Regions from separate parts of the Homo sapiens genome. Here region 1 is linked to region 2. The links are contacts of gene promoters, found by promoter capture Hi-C in blood cells and fetal thymus (Javierre and others, 2016). All regions are on one chromosome and are shown on one strand. Each heading gives the region's core, a stretch centred on a gene start or on the middle of the fragment in contact. The rest is flanking DNA. Distances are from core to core; before and after follow the strand shown. Region 1 holds the start of PSEN1 (presenilin 1). Region 2 holds the start of ZNF410 (zinc finger protein 410).

The links. Contacts are between HindIII fragments. The CHiCAGO score rates a contact against its expected background, and 5 or more counts as called.
Region 1: the fragment with the promoter of PSEN1 here is called in contact with the fragment with the promoter of ZNF410 in region 2 in 8 of 17 cell types (monocytes, total B cells, fetal thymus and 5 more); the score reaches 10.1 in monocytes.

Annotation. Positions count from the first base shown.
Region 1 is chr14:73,134,752-73,138,055 of GRCh38, forward strand. PSEN1 (presenilin 1) reads left to right here and starts at 1,756. Exons shown (of 12, transcript NM_000021.4): 1 at 1,756-1,832. RefSeq lists silencers at 1,536-1,615, 1,876-1,935 and an enhancer at 2,106-2,215. The HindIII fragment of the contact is 2,442 bases long and covers 504-2,945 here.
Region 2 is chr14:73,885,505-73,888,398 of GRCh38, forward strand. ZNF410 (zinc finger protein 410) reads left to right here and starts at 1,355. Exons shown (of 12, transcript NM_021188.3): 1 at 1,355-1,411. It overlaps PTGR2 (prostaglandin reductase 2), which reads left to right. Exons shown (of 10, transcript NM_001146154.2): 10 at 1-222. RefSeq lists a silencer at 1,015-1,294 and an enhancer at 1,345-1,414. The HindIII fragment of the contact is 2,164 bases long and covers 766-2,894 here.

The sequences.
Region 1 (3,304 bases), core at 506-3,005, 750 kb before region 2:
TCCTGACCTCAGATGAGCCGCCCACCTTGGCCTCCCAAAGTGCTGGAATTACAGGCGTGAGCCACCGCACCCTGCCTATTGTACCATATTTAGTTTCCCAATTTTTTGCTATATAATATTCCATGAATATCTTTGCCCAAAATTTTTGTAGATTGTTTCTAAGAATAGTTCATCAGCATTTTAAGACATCCTATTAATATTAGCGGACTGCAATCAGATTGAAGTAGTTCACAAATAGATGGGTTTTAGCCTGTATTTGTTCAATACTGAACTATTGTATGTATCAGGCACTGTTATGTATCAGGCACTGTTCTCAGCACTTGTAAAATGTATATGTGCTGCTGACAAGCATGAGCACTTGTAAATGAACAAACTAAAATCCCTACTCTTGTTAAAGTGGGGGAGGTGAAGAATTTTAAAAACATCTTTTTTCGTTCAACCTTCTCCCACAACTTATCTTTCATTCTGCTAATGGAAAATATTACTTTTGTTCTTAAATATGAAGCTTTTGTGTGTAAAAAGTATTAGAATCTCATGTTTTTGAACAAGGTTGGCAGTGGGTTGGGAGGAGGGATTGGAGATTGATGCGATAGGAATGTGAAGGGATAGCTTGGGGTGGATTTTATTTTTTAATTTTAATTTTTATTTTTTGAGATGGAGTCTTGCTCTGTCTCCCAGGCTGGAGTGCAGTGGTGTGATCTCAGCTCACGGGTTCAAGCGATTCTCCTGCTGCAGCCTCCCGAGTAGCTGGGATTACAGGAGCGCGCCACCACACCCGGCTAATTTTTTTGTATTTTTAGTAGAGACGGGGTTTCACCATGTTGGTTAGGCTGGTCTAGAACTCCCAACCTCATGATCCGCCTGCTTCGGCCTCCCAAAGTGCCGGAATTACAGGCGTGAGCGACTGCACCCGGCCGCTTGGGGGTGGATTTTTAAAGAAACTTTAGAAGAATGTAACTTGCCCAGATACCATGTACCGTTAATTTCATTTTCGGTTTTTTGAATACCCATGTTTGACATTTCTCCGTTCACCTTGATTAAATAAGGTAGTATTCATTTTTTAGTTTTAGCTTTTGGATATATGTGTAAGTGTGGTATGCTGTCTAATGAATTAGACATTGGTACTGTCTTTACCAAAACTGGACAAAGAGCAGGCAGATGCAAAAATCAAGTGACCCAGCAAACCAGACACATTTTCTGCTCTCAGCTAGCTTGCCACCTAGAAAGACTGGTTGTCAAAGTTGGAGTCCAAGAATCGCGGAGGATGTTTAAAATGCAGTTTCTCAGGTTCTCGCCACCCACCAGAAGTTTTGATTCATTGAGTGGTGGGAGAGGGCAGAGATATTTGCGATTTTAACAGCATTCTCTTGATTGTGATGCAGCTGGTTCGCAAATAGGTACCCTAAAGAAATGACAGGTGTTAAATTTAGGATGGCCATCGCTTGTATGCCGGGAGAAGCACACGCTGGGCCCAATTTATATAGGGGCTTTCGTCCTCAGCTCGAGCAGCCTCAGAACCCCGACAACCCACGCCAGCGCTCTGGGCGGATTCCGTCAGGTGGGGAAGGCCAGGTGGAGCTCTGGGTTCTCCCCGCAATCGTTTCTCCAGGCCGGAGGCCCCGCCCCCTTCCTCCTGGCTCCTCCCCTCCTCCGTGGGCCGGCCGCCAACGACGCCAGAGCCGGAAATGACGACAACGGTGAGGGTTCTCGGGCGGGGCCTGGGACAGGCAGCTCCGGGGTCCGCGGTTTCACATCGGAAACAAAACAGCGGCTGGTCTGGAAGGAACCTGAGCTACGAGCCGCGGCGGCAGCGGGGCGGCGGGGAAGCGTATGTGCGTGATGGGGAGTCCGGGCAAGCCAGGAAGGCACCGCGGACATGGGCGGCCGCGGGCAGGGCCCGGCCCTTTGTGGCCGCCCGGGCCGCGAAGCCGGTGTCCTAAAAGATGAGGGGCGGGGCGCGGCCGGTTGGGGCTGGGGAACCCCGTGTGGGAAACCAGGAGGGGCGGCCCGTTTCTCGGGCTTCGGGCGCGGCCGGGTGGAGAGAGATTCCGGGGAGCCTTGGTCCGGAAATGCTGTTTGCTCGAAGACGTCTCAGGGCGCAGGTGCCTTGGGCCGGGATTAGTAGCCGTCTGAACTGGAGTGGAGTAGGAGAAAGAGGAAGCGTCTTGGGCTGGGTCTGCTTGAGCAACTGGTGAAACTCCGCGCCTCACGCCCCGGGTGTGTCCTTGTCCAGGGGCGACGAGCATTCTGGGCGAAGTCCGCACGCCTCTTGTTCGAGGCGGAAGACGGGGTCTGATGCTTTCTCCTTGGTCGGGACTGTCTCGAGGCATGCATGTCCAGTGACTCTTGTGTTTGCTGCTGCTTCCCTCTCAGATTCTTCTCACCGTTGTGGTCAGCTCTGCTTTAGGCATATTAATCCATAGTGGAGGCTGGGATGGGTGAGAGAATTGAGGTGACTTTTCCATAATTCAGGTGAGATGTGATTAGAGTTCGATCTGCGGTGGTGGCAGAGGCTTACAAGAAACACTAACGGGACATGGGAACCAATTGAGGATCAGGGAATAAAGTGTGAAGTTGACTAGGAGGTTTTCAGTTTAGAACATGGCAGAGACATTCTCAGAAATAAGGAAGTTAGGAAGAAAGACCTGGTTTAGAGAGGAGGGCGAGGAAGTGGTTTGGAAGTGTCACTTTGGAAGTGCCAGCAGGTGAAAATGCCCTGTGAACAGGACTGGAGCTGAAAACAGGAATCAATTCCATAGATTTCCAGTTGATGTTGGAGCAGTGGAGAAGTCTAAGCTAAGGAAGGGGAAGAGGAGGCCAAGGCAAACACTTAGGAACACTTGCAACGAGGGGGTGGAAGAAGAGCAAGGAGCCAGCTGAGGAGAATGAGTGTGGTTGGAGAACCACCACAGCGCAGGGTCGCCAGAGCTGAGGAAGGGGAGGGAAGCTTCAGGAAGGAAAAGGTTGGCAGGGATTTTGAGTGTTAGGCCTGGTGTAGCAGAAGGAACAGAAGATTTAGAGCAGCGCTAGCCAATAGAAATAAAATGTGAGGCCCGGGGCGGTGGCTCACGCCTGTAATCCCAGCACTTTGGGAGGCCGCGGGGCGGATCCTTGAGCTGAGGAGTTCGAGACCAGACAACACGGCGAAACCCCGGCTCTACAAAAAATTAGCTGGGCGTGGGGGCGCGCGCCTGTAGTCCCAGCTGCTCCCAAGCGAGGCTGAGGCAGGAGAATCACTTGAACCCGGGAGAAGGAGGTTGCAGTAAGCCAAGATTATGCCACTGCACTGCAGCCTGGGCAAAAG
Region 2 (2,894 bases), core at 105-2,604:
TTTGTATGCAACATTTGTAATAAGTAGATTCAAACTGTGTTGGTAATCAGCCTCCCCAGTTTTCGTGAGTGGCCCTTTTTTGTTACTTTTCCTGGACCATTTCATCGCCTGAGGGGGTTTCACTTTTCTCTGTATGTTGCTAACTCCCAAATCTCCATCTGTATTTCTGACCTCTTTCTTGAGCACTGGACCTTTACCTCCAAGTAAATATCCTCAACTCTGGATTGCATCTTATACTCTGCTTTTTTCTTTTCTTTTCTTTTTTGAGATGGAGTCTTGCTCAGTCGCCCGGCGTGCAGCGGCACGATCTCGGCTCACTGCAACCTCCGCCTCCCGGGTTCAAGCGATTCTCCTGCCTCAGCCTCCCGAGTAGCTAGGATTACAGGCGCGTGCCACCACGCCCGGCTAATTTTTGTGTTTTTAGTAGAGACGGGTTTTCACGGCGTTACCCAGGATGGTCTCGATCTCCTGACCTCGTGATCCGCCCACCTTAGCCTCCCAAAGTGCTGGGATTAAAGGCGTGAGCCACGGAGTCCGGCCTACTCTGCTTTTCTAAAGTGGAATTATCTTCCTCTGAAATGTTTCTCCTTTATTTTAAATCACCATTAGTAATTTGTGTACCCAAACCTGTCATCAAGGCTTATCTTTAACCTTGAAAATGCCTTTTTAAAGAGAACTCCTTTAATTCCCACGGTTGAGTCTCTCATTCTTCCGCACGCAAATATTTTAAAATAAGTAATTTCAAGAAGTCAGTCAAACTCACAAAGCTTTAACAAGGTGGCATCCAGCTTGGAAGTCAAGTGTTCAAGCCCGCAGTCGGGACATCCAAGAGCTCTTTACATCCTAATTACAACACGGAACCCAGACTCACTGCATACCCCGTCCCGTATATAATGCAAAACTTGATTCTGCAAGTTCCTTTCTCGGGCGGTGAAACTTCGAAGGTCCTCTCCATGGAGACCTTTGATAAATGTTTAAGCAGTGATCTTTTCTTTCGCGTTTGCCTCCATTGCAACGCCTCCGCTGATGGGAAAAACTACTCCCTCCGCTACTGCGGGGTGGCAGTGACGTCAACGAATTAGCTGACCTGTTTTTTCGGGCTTCGCGGACATAGGAGTCCCGAAGGCCGAGAGTGAGTGAGTGAGTGGGAGCGGGGCGGCTGCGGCTCCTCCTGTCCGGGGCGGAGCCCTGCGTCGCGGGCCTGGGGAGGCCCCGCCAGCACCCTTGACGTCTGGGTCCCGAGCAGTGCGGCAGCCACACGACACTGAGGCGAGCGAGTGGGTGTGTGCGTGGGGGGTCAGCCAAACTTCCTGTCCCGCGCTCGAGCTGCTTCCGGCGGGAGCCGGAAGACGCTGTGTGTGGACGGAATTCGGGACCGACTGACGGCCGGCCGGCTTCCCGGAACTGGAAGGTGAGCTCCGAGGTGGGCCTGGCCACCCCTCCTCGGTTAGGTAGTACCCGAGAGGGCGGGGGCCAGTACCGGCTACTTGGGGCCTGGGGCCGAGTTCGCCCCGAGAGAGGAAACCGCCCTCCTTGGGCATCCCTCCTGGATCTGGCGGGCCCGGGAGCGGCCAGTCTGAAGCCCTGCGGCTTTGGCCCTTCCCCTCGCGGGTTTTTAGGGGCGATGTTCTTGCTCCTTTGCTTGGTTTTGGGGGTAGGGATATAGGAACAGACTGTCCTGAGAAAGCCAGAGTCAGCGAGTCCCCGGGGCGGGGGCTCTTGGACTGCACCCGCAGCCGGGGCCTGCCTACGGACCTTGGGGCCTTATTTCTGAGGCCTTTGTGGTGTGGGGTAGAGGATGCCAGGAGGCCTTGCCCTGAATGTTTCAGTCCAGAGCTACCCTCTCCTTTCATACCACTTACTTTCTGGGTTTGGAAAAGGGACAGCTGCCTACTCGGCTGGGCTGGGTCGCCCGTTTCTCCTTTGCCTGTCAGTTCGGGGGGCAGGAGTGTGTGGATTGTTTACGGCCTTCATACATTTCGTGTCGAATTTATTTTCTGAAGTTTCTCAAGATAATCCAATTTATTAAAGTTTATCCCACTTGATCATGAGGCTCAGAAATGCATTTAGGCACCATTTGGAAGTTAAATATTATTAACTTGGGACTTAAGAATTAGTACTTAGGTTGGAACGAAGGTCAACGCAGCATATTTGCAATAAATAAAAAACATTTGGAAATAAAGTCGGGCATTTTGTTAGGGAGTGAGAAATTGCACTTGGTTTTTTCTTAGTGTGGTGCAGAGTAAAAGACAACTAAAGTAGCAGTCAGAAGTTTTAAGTTCTAGTTTTTTACGTTTTGCATCTAAGTAGATGTCTAATTTTTGGCAAGTTGCTGAATCTCTAGCTCTGGGGAGTTTTTCTGTAAACGAAGGGGTTTACCTTTAGGGCTATGACAATTTTTCCGAGGCACTGAACTTTGAGTAGAAGTGACATAAGCATTTCTTTGTTTTGGAAAGATAACTTGAATGGCTGCATAAAGGATGTATTGGAAAGAGGAATTTTAAACGCGGGGTGACCAGTTAGAGGCCTGTTTTAATAGTATAGTAGAAAGTTACTGAGAGACCTAAACAGGGCATTACAGTAGGGAACAGAGAACATTCTGGGAACAGAGAATCACGGGAATTATTTAAAAATGGAGAATGAGAGAGATTTAAAGACCTAGAATTTGCAGCTGAGTGGGAGGAAGATTGGGCGATCATTGAAATAGGTAATACAAGAAGAACAGGTTTGGTAAGGAAGATAATAATCTGGATTTTGGACATTGTTAGGTTTGAGATGCTGTTGGATATACATGTGGAGATACCTAGCAAGCAGTTAGAAATGAAGGTTTGGAGTTCAGAAGAGATGACTAGAGAAAAATGTAGGTATCATTTGTAGTGTCATTCATTCATTAT